Regions from separate parts of the Homo sapiens genome. Here regions 2 and 3 are each linked to region 1. The links are contacts of gene promoters, found by promoter capture Hi-C in blood cells and fetal thymus (Javierre and others, 2016). All regions are on one chromosome and are shown on one strand. Each heading gives the region's core, a stretch centred on a gene start or on the middle of the fragment in contact. The rest is flanking DNA. Distances are from core to core; before and after follow the strand shown. Region 1 holds the start of NGEF (neuronal guanine nucleotide exchange factor). Region 2 has its middle 14 kb from the start of ATG16L1. Region 3 overlaps ATG16L1 (autophagy related 16 like 1).

Evidence for each region. Contacts are between HindIII fragments. The CHiCAGO score rates a contact against its expected background, and 5 or more counts as called.
Region 2: a fragment that was not itself captured here is called in contact with the fragment with the promoter of NGEF in region 1 in 1 of 17 cell types (endothelial precursors); the score reaches 6.3 in endothelial precursors.
Region 3: a fragment that was not itself captured here is called in contact with the fragment with the promoter of NGEF in region 1 in 1 of 17 cell types (endothelial precursors); the score reaches 5.6 in endothelial precursors.

What each region holds. Positions count from the first base shown.
Region 1 is chr2:233,011,867-233,014,856 of GRCh38, reverse strand. NGEF (neuronal guanine nucleotide exchange factor) reads left to right here and starts at 1,601. Exons shown (of 15, transcript NM_019850.3): 1 at 1,601-1,789. LOC101928881 (a long non-coding RNA gene) reads right to left here and starts at 2,243. Exons shown (of 3, transcript NR_136325.1): 1 at 1,888-2,243; 2 at 1,610-1,717. The HindIII fragment of the contact is 3,625 bases long and covers 1-1,619 here.
Region 2 is chr2:233,236,402-233,239,177 of GRCh38, reverse strand. No RefSeq gene overlaps it. Among named protein-coding and RNA genes, the nearest start is that of ATG16L1, 14 kb to the left of the region's middle. The HindIII fragment of the contact is 1,046 bases long and covers 998-2,043 here.
Region 3 is chr2:233,261,308-233,264,245 of GRCh38, reverse strand. ATG16L1 (autophagy related 16 like 1) reads right to left here. Exons shown (of 18, transcript NM_030803.7): 3 at 1,011-1,116; 4 at 181-254. Among named protein-coding and RNA genes, the nearest start is that of ATG16L1, 11 kb to the right of the region's middle. RefSeq lists enhancers at 2,062-2,131, 2,432-2,521. The HindIII fragment of the contact is 1,847 bases long and covers 686-2,532 here.

The DNA.
Region 1 (2,990 bases), core at 352-2,851:
GATGGTGGGTGGATGGATGGATGGAAGGGTGGGTGGATGGATGGGTGGGTGGATGGAAGTGTGGATGGGTGGATGGATGGGTGGATGGGTGGATAATGGATGGATGGATGGGTGGATGGATGGGTGGATGGGTGGATGATGGATGGATGGGTGGATGGATGGTGGATGGATGGATGGACGGATGGATGGGTGGATGGGTGGATGGATGGGTGGATGGGTGGATGGATGGGTGAGAGAATAGATGAGAGACTACTTCAATCTGGCTTTCAGGGACAAAACTGAAACCCATGTTTTGTGGCAATCAGATGGCTGTGGGAACTTTCAAAGATGGCCCTCAGGGACCCCCACCCCTGGTATTGTGCCCTGTGTAATCCCCTACCTTTGAGTGTAGGCTGTGCCTGATGACTTCCTTCTAACGAGTAGAATATGCCAGAAGTGATGGAATATCACATCCTTGAGTATATTACAAAAGACTGACCTACCTCTTCCCAGACTCTCTCCATAGCCCTCTCTGATGCAACGAGCTGCCAGGGCGGAGAGGCCCACATGGCAAAGGACTGATAGTGGCCACAGCTGACAGCTGAGAGGGGCTGAGGCCTTCATCCTACAGCCCTAAGAAACTGAATCCTGCCAACACCAGCAGCTTGGAAGTGGATCCCCCCTAGTGGAGCCATGAGATGAGACCTCAGCCCCTCCAACACTTGGATGGCAACTTATGAGAAACCCTGAGCAGAGAACCCAGCCAAGCAGTGCCCAGACTTCTAGCCACAGAAACTGAGATGACAAATGAGTGTTATTTCAAGCCACACACTTTGAGTTAATTTGTTTCCAGAACAGATAGCTAAAACAAACGCTGATTTGAGTTTTATATAAAGATGGATGATGTAGCAATTAAACTTGGCAAATGATGGTAGTGGTTTTGATACTAGTTGGCTTGGGTTTGAATCCTGGATCCCCAACTTACTAGCTGTGGGGCTTTGAGCAAGATGATCAATTTCTTGAGCCTCTGTTTCTGCATCTTTAAAATGGGCATGATTCTCTGGTCATAGTGACAACACAAGGATTACATAGATTATGTAATGTACTTAGCCCAGTGCCTGTCATGTAGTAAGCACTGGATTAAAGGAAGCTATTAGAGGGAATAATAATAATAATAATAATAATAATAATAATAATAATAATGGAGCAAGATGCCTTACAAAGCAGTGAGTGTTCCATGCCTGGAAGTGATTGAGTTAAGGCCAGATGGCCATGGCAGGAAGTGACTAGAACCCTGGAGGACCCCAAAGCCTCTCCCAAATCTCAGATTTGAGGGCCGTGCAGCTGGCTTGGCCAATGCTTGGGGTTGGTGGGCCAGCTGAGCCACGGGCCCCTCTTGGTGTGACCATCAGCATTATCTTGCACTGGGCGGGCGGCGGGTATTCCAGCCATGCCCAGCCTTCCCCTCAGATAGCCCTTCCCTCCTGCACCACTTTTGTGTCAGGTATGTGGCTGCCACCCTGGCTCAACCCATGGGGCCCAGGAAGGTAAACACCCAGCCGGGAAGTGATCGTTATGGGCTCGTGGCCAGCTATGGGCCAAGGCAGGTCTAAAGGTCGGGAATGCTTACCAGTGAAGCTTTTCCAGGACAGGACGAAGTTTTTGGCTGTGGGCTCTCTGGGACAGAGTGGAGCGCCTGTGGATTTAGCCGGGGACACACCATCCTGCTCGCAGGTGCCTGGACAGGACAGGGGACGAGGGAGGAACACTCTCTGAGGAAGCCCAACTCCTATGAGCTCCTCTCTGGCAGGTGAGAGAATGGTTTTGGTATTTTTTAAAAAAATAAAATGAGATAAAACAAGAGAAGGAACAGAGGCTACCGCTAGGACAGGTAGGAAAGGAGATTACCACCCATCCATTCACTGAGGAGGAGCCCCCAAGAGAAACAGCAGCCCTGGATTCCACCCGAGGGATCCTGTCTGGTCTCGGCTTCAGCACTGCCCCTCCTGGCACTCAGTTTCACCATCTGGGAATCAGGATAAGGACTCCTTCCAGGCGCTCTTCCATTATGGCTGTGGGGTAAGTGAGATCAAAAGCAGGAATGGCTGCATAATTGCAGGGCCCTGTGCAATATAAAAATGCAGGGCCCCTTGTTAAAATAGTAAGGCTTTCAAAAGGACAACAACACAGCATTAAAGCAAGCCGGGGCACCTTCTAAGAACAGGGCCCTGTGACTGCCCAGGCCCCACACCCACGACGCCAGTCCTGATAATGAGCGTATATGTAAACGGAAGTGCCCTGATTCCTGTGTGCCATGGCACAAATCTCAGGGTCAGGAAGTGCACTTGGGAAACAGAAGTCATAGTCGTGAAGTGACAGCCCACTGCGCTTTAGCTCCCCCAGCACTGCCCCCTCCGCTCAGGGGCCCCTTTCAGAAAGACAGAAGGCCCTACCCCTCAGAACCTTCCTGATTTTTGCATCTGGCTGGCCTCAAGCCACAGCACGGTGTGACTGAAATGTGTAGGGACACAGTTTTCTTGGATGTGAAAGTGGTAGGTTCTTATTGTCTATCTTGATTTAAAATTTGGGACAGTCACACAGTCTCTGGCTGTGTAGAGGTGGGACTTGTGTTTCCTGGGCTCGTGACAGCTCTGCTATGTTCCATTGACTATCAGTGTATTTCTGCTTTTTGGGAAAATCCTTAATGCAATAAGGCCACTGGTGGGAATGTTCCAGCTTGGACACTTGCCATGTGTCTTTGTCCTCCCTGCCCCTTCTCTCTTTCTCTCTCTCTCTCTCTCTTTTTCCATTTAGGCTTCCCCTTTGCCCATGTCTCAGGCTGCCCCTTGGCACTGCTTAGCTCTGAGGAAGTAGAAGCCAGGGTCCCCTTGGGGGTCAAGCTTTCTGGTCCATGAAGGGAGACCACAGACCACCTCCCTCCACCGCACTCTCCTCCCACATCCCTTTCTGGAGCCCAAATTGTCATGGGAACCCCTCCCAGGGAGGGGATC
Region 2 (2,776 bases), core at 271-2,770, 220 kb before region 1:
GGAAGGAAGAAGCAGGAAATGGCTGCTGGGTAGGCTATCAATGGTGTGTCCCCTTTACCCTGTTGGGAGTGTGCACAGAACACCACGTTATCCTCAGAAGACATCTGATGAGCGTAGAGCCAAAGCAAGGCAAATGTCTGCAGGTGGGATCACTTTACATTGTCACAGTGGGATCCATTTTCCCCACCATATGAAGGAAACTAGTTATTGTCAGAAGAGACCATTGGGATGAAAAGTGTGTATCTTCGAAACCACTAAAGAAAAACTCACACTTTGGGAGGCCGAGGCGGGTGGATCATGAGGTCAGGAGATCAAGACCATCCTGGCTAACAAGGTGAAACCCTGTCTCTACTAAAAATACAAAAAATTAGCCGGGCGCGGTGGCGGGCGCCTGTAGTCCCAGCTACTCGGGAGGCTGAGGCAGGAGAATGGCGTGAACCCGGGAAGCGAAGCTTGCAGTGAGCCGAGATTGCACCACTGCAGTCCGCAGTCCGGCCTGGGCGACAGAGCGAGACTCCGTCTCAAAAAAAAAAAAAAGAAAAAAAGAAAGAAAAACTCAGTCTGTACCTTCTATAATAATAATTAGTAATGCCAGTAACAGCAGGTAACATTTATTGAATGTATACAGTGTGTGAGGCTAAATGCTTTACAATTGTTCTCTTCTCAGTTTTCACAACAGCATAGTCGTGTTGGTGCTATTGCTGGCTCTACTTCACAAAGACAATGTAGCCTGGGTTCTGGGTTCAAATTCTGATGCTAGCACTTATCACCTCTGATATCTTAGGCAAGTTGCTTAAACTCTGTGCCCCAGGATTAAATGAATTAATACTGACAACGGTGTCTTGCACACAGTAAGTGCTTTATAGGTATGGCCATTATTATTATTTCAGAGGAAGAAAGTGAGGCTCAGGGAGACAGGTAACTTGTCCAGGTGCACATGATGGGTAAGAGGTAGGCAGATTCCAACCCAGCCTGTGGACTCCATAGCCTGCAAGCTTACCAATCTGTGCCTTCCTTCTCCTGCCTCATAAAAAAGAGCCTGTGTGTTGACCTTGAACTTGTATCTCTCAGATCTCCTGCTGGGGGAAATACAATCACCTGACAGCCCTTGATGCTGTGCTCTAAATCCACCACCACATTCAAGCTGTGTCCACATTTCTTACCACTGCTCCCAACCAATGACGAAGCACAGCAGGGCTGCTAAGGCAGAATGACTCCTGTGACACGTGGGACTCCTCTGATGAACTTTGCCTCAAGGATGCTGCTATGGACCGAATGTTTGTGCCCCTGCCCCAAATTCATATCTTGAAGCCATAATCCCCAGTGTGATGGTATTTGGAAGTGGGACCTTTGGGAGGTGCTTAGGTCACAAGGGAAGAGCCCCCATGAATGGGATCAGCACCCATTCATGAGGTGAGGACCTTATAAAAGAGGCCCCAGAGAGCTGCCTTGCTCCTCCTACCATGTGAGGACACAGTGAGAAGTCTACTATCTGCAAACCAGGAAGAAGGTTCTCACCAGATACTGGATCTGCCAGCACCTTGACCTTGGACTTCCCAGGCTCCAGAACTGTGGAAAATACATTTCTGTTGTTTATAAGCCACCCAGTATATGGTATCTTATTATAGTAGACTGAACTGACTTAGACAGATGTCTATCAACCCTGCCCAAACTTTGTTAGAATGTGCGGCAGGCTGAGAGTCTTCCTACCTCACCTTCCTTCCCTCTCTCCTTCACCAGGGTCAGACCTGCATCATGGCCTGACAGCTCTCCCAGCCTCCTCCTGTAATCTCCCCATCTTCCTGCACAGACACTTCCTTCAATAAATCTCTCATGTCTAACCCTGCCCTAGAACGTACTTCTCTGAGAACCAGAGAGGTTTGGATGAAACCCAAGTAATAGAAGAAAGTGGGAATGAAAGGAGCTGCCACCAACACTGCTGTTGATGTTTTGGAGGTCCTGACCCTTGCCAAGTCCACTTGTCTTTCTCTCTAATCAAGTCATGTGCCTGGGTGGCTGTGTTTCTATCCCATGACTGAAGCTTTCCGGCCAAGAACTTTTTGGACCAGCCGTGGACACCTAACTGGGCCTAAATCCTCTCTTAAGGGAGAGTGAGGAGCCGGGCCTCTGGGTCTGGAGCAGTCAAGGGCTGAGTCAGCACCATGGCAAGACAAAGCCAAGGAGAACCAGGAATAGGCAGAGGACGCTGGGCAGAGAAAGAAACAGGTGAGCAGAAGGAAACGTCCAGAGAGGACCAGGGCCCAGAGAAGAGCCACCCTCTGCCTGACAACCTTGTTCCCAGCTCCATGTGGCTGAGGCCTGGCTAGCTAGACTCTTCATCAGTGCTCCTTTTTTTTTTTTTTTTTTTTTTTTTTTGAGGCAGAGTCTTGCTCTGTCGCCCAGGCTGGAATGCAATGGCACGATCTTGGCTCACCACAACCTCCGCCTTCCAGGGTCAAGTGATTCTCCTGCCTCGGCCTCCCGAGTAGCTGGGATTACAGGCATGTGCCACCACACCTGGCTAATTTTTATATTTTTAGTAGAGACAGGGTTTCACCATGTTGGCCAGGCTGGTCTCAAACTCCTGACCTCAAGTGATTCACCCGCCTCAGCCTCTCAAAATGCTGGGATTACAGCGTGAGCCACTCTGCCTGGCTGAGCTCTCCTTAGGGTTAGGTTACTCTGTCTCTGCTTGGAGCTAGTTTCTCTTCCCCATAAGCAGAAAGCCTTGACTGAAATGGAAATTTAGAATTTTAGAGCAGGAAGACCCCTTAGA
Region 3 (2,938 bases), core at 360-2,859, 250 kb before region 1:
TGCTTTTTCCTTCTCAGAGCTGGTAGAAAAGGATCCCAGAGTGTGTATGCACTGAAAATCAAACTCTCGCTAAGTGCACTGTGGCCACTCACTGCCACTGGCCCTGCTCACAAGAGGTCAGCAGAACAAAGGACATGGGACCCAATGACCAGGCTCCAAGGAGGCGGGGTCTCTACTCACTTTGCTTCATTCATCTGCATCTCCCTGTCCTTCCGCTGCATTTGGTTATTCAGGTCAATCACCAGTTGAGCTAACTGGGAGATAAAGAAGAATACTTTCATAAATAAAAATTTTAGGACCTCATTTGGAAACTACACAGTGGGTGGCGATTTATTTTTAAGAAAGAATAAATGAGCTGGGTGACAGCAAGGAGCCGAGGCGCCTATGGGGACACAAAGGGGAACTATCCCTGCCACTCCCTGTTGAAGGACAGCTTGGCTGGAATGAGAAGTGTTCCAGGTGACTGCCAGGGGCTTGCTGAGGACAGCTGTCTACTCCTCAACTTCAGCTACCTTTTTGGAGACTCATTTCTGCTGAAAAGATAATCAATTCAGCTGTACTGATGGTGAACTGTATTTTCCCAACTGGAGCTTTGCCGTAAGACCACCATCCAGGCGAACACAGCCTAGGACTTGATTCTTTCTCACGAATGTCTCTGAAATTTCAGGGTTTGTACTGAAAAGCTTTATGAAACCATCAGTGAGGCCTTCAGCGCACCAGGTAGCAGGCTTTTTTGTTCTTTAAAGCCTCTCCACTCTTGCCTCTCATGCTGATTTTGGAGCATGGTAACTGGCAGCGCTCTCACAGGATTGCCCTTCTGGTGATGGGCCTCAATCTGCCTGGTCTTTTCATTCTGTTTTCCTCACCCTTTTATTCCTATGGAGGGGACTTTTGATGCCACATATGGCTAAGGCTGCTGCCAATTCTGGTGAGAAGTGACTGAGCTCCCCCGCTCCCCACAGGACTCTCATAGAGGGCAGAAGACAGATGAGGAAAAGGGCTAGCTTTACCTCCCCACGTTTCTTGTGTAATTCAGTCAGTTCCTCTTGGTGCTTAATCCTCAGTTGGGCCATTTCTTGTAGCTGATTGTCATTCCATGTGCCATCATGTCCGGGACTAAATTGGCAAACCAGGCAGATGAAGAGAATGTGCAAAAAACGGAGGGGGAAAAATGAGACTCCAAACCTTTCCAATTAGGCAATGAAACCATAACTCCAGAAACATGTTCACAAAGCCAATAAACCATTCGGGTGTCTCCAGCAGCTGCGGTTACAGGCACTATGAGTGGAAAGGAGGAGACATGAAACACATGGAAAAAAGCAAAGCAACTGTGACCATCAGGCACATCAGGAATAAAGGGTGGAAAGTTCCTGAATGAAGTCCCAGTAACAGGCACCAACAGGGCCCACTGGCTCAGCAAGGACCTGAGTGCCGATGACGCAGCAGTGAGTGCAGGGCTCTGCTTCCACACAGCTGACAGTCAACTGAGAGCACGTGTGAGGTCAGCAGTCACATGTGCTTGCAGAAAACTCAAGCACAAGAAGGGGAACAGAGGGAGGGGGTCCTATTTTAACGTAATTGAGGAGGGTTTCTCCTACGTGACACATGACTAGAGACTGTAAGGAAGTGAGGAATAAGCCATGTGGACCCTTGAGGGAAGGGCCCTCTGGGCAGAAGGAGCAGCAGCAGCAGAGCCTGGAGAGGTGTACAGCAGGTGGTGTATTTGGAGGAAGGGTGACTGAAGCCCAGGCACAGGGGGACAGAGGAGGTGCGGTCAAGGACGAGGTGGGGAAATGATGCAGAGCCTTGTGGGCACCTCCGAGGGCTGTGAGGTTTACTAGGCGTGAAGGGAAGCTGCTGGAGGGCTCTGAGCAGCTGAATGACTTAGGTTTTAAAAGGAGAGCAGATTGCAGTGGGGTAAGGGCCGAAACAGGAAGACCAGCCAGCAGGCTACTGTGAAGTGCAAACATGGGACAGTGCGGCTCAGACCAGGGTGGGAGCAGTGAGGTGAGATACGGTCTGATTCTAGATCCATTCCAAAGACAGCGCTAACAGGACTTGACTTTGAATTGGCTATGGGGCATGAAGACAGATAGGAGTCAAGGATGAATCAAGGCTTTTGGCCTGAGCAACTGGTAGAAGGTAGGTGTCACCCACTGAAATGGGCAAGACTGTGGGAGGAGCAGGTTTTGGAGGAGACCTAAAGAGTTCGTTTGTGGCCATTCAAGTGAAAACTGAGTACTGTCAAATGGAAACTGAGTATTAAGAGTCTGAACCTCAAGAAGAAGTCCAAGCTGGAGGCTAACATGTAGACACTGTCAGCAAACAGATGTGCCTAAAGCCACAGGAGTGAGTTCAGATCACCTCCAGAGTCAATGCAGTTTTGGAATCTTTGCCAAGTGTTTGCATAATATCTCAGATACAGCAGAAGACAACTAGAACTGTGGATTTATAGTTCGAGAGAAAGCTGGTGTCACAGGTGAGAATTATCAGACTATAGTGAGCAGCTGAAACCACTGTCTAGGGAAAGCTTGTAGATGGAGAAAAGGAACAAGGCTGGACACTTGTTCCTCTCATCCAACATCCGATGAGAGCGGAAAGAACTGCCCCCTCCATATGACCCAGAATAAAATAAAAAGAGGGGGATAAAGGTGGTAGTATAGCAGTCCTTCCATCTCTATATGTATTGTTATTACATAGCTAAGCACAAACTAATACCTTATCTTGAGGCAACCTGGCACTTCCCCAATCTTAACCCAAGAAGTAATGCCAAGAGATTAGACAGTGGAACACACTTTACATGAAACCATCCTAAATCAGGCAGAATAATTATCAAATCTCCCCCACCTTTTAAAAAATTATTGAGATGGTATCTCACTATGTTGCCCTGGCTGGCCTCGAACTCCTGGACTCAAGCATGTAAGATGTGGACCCACCT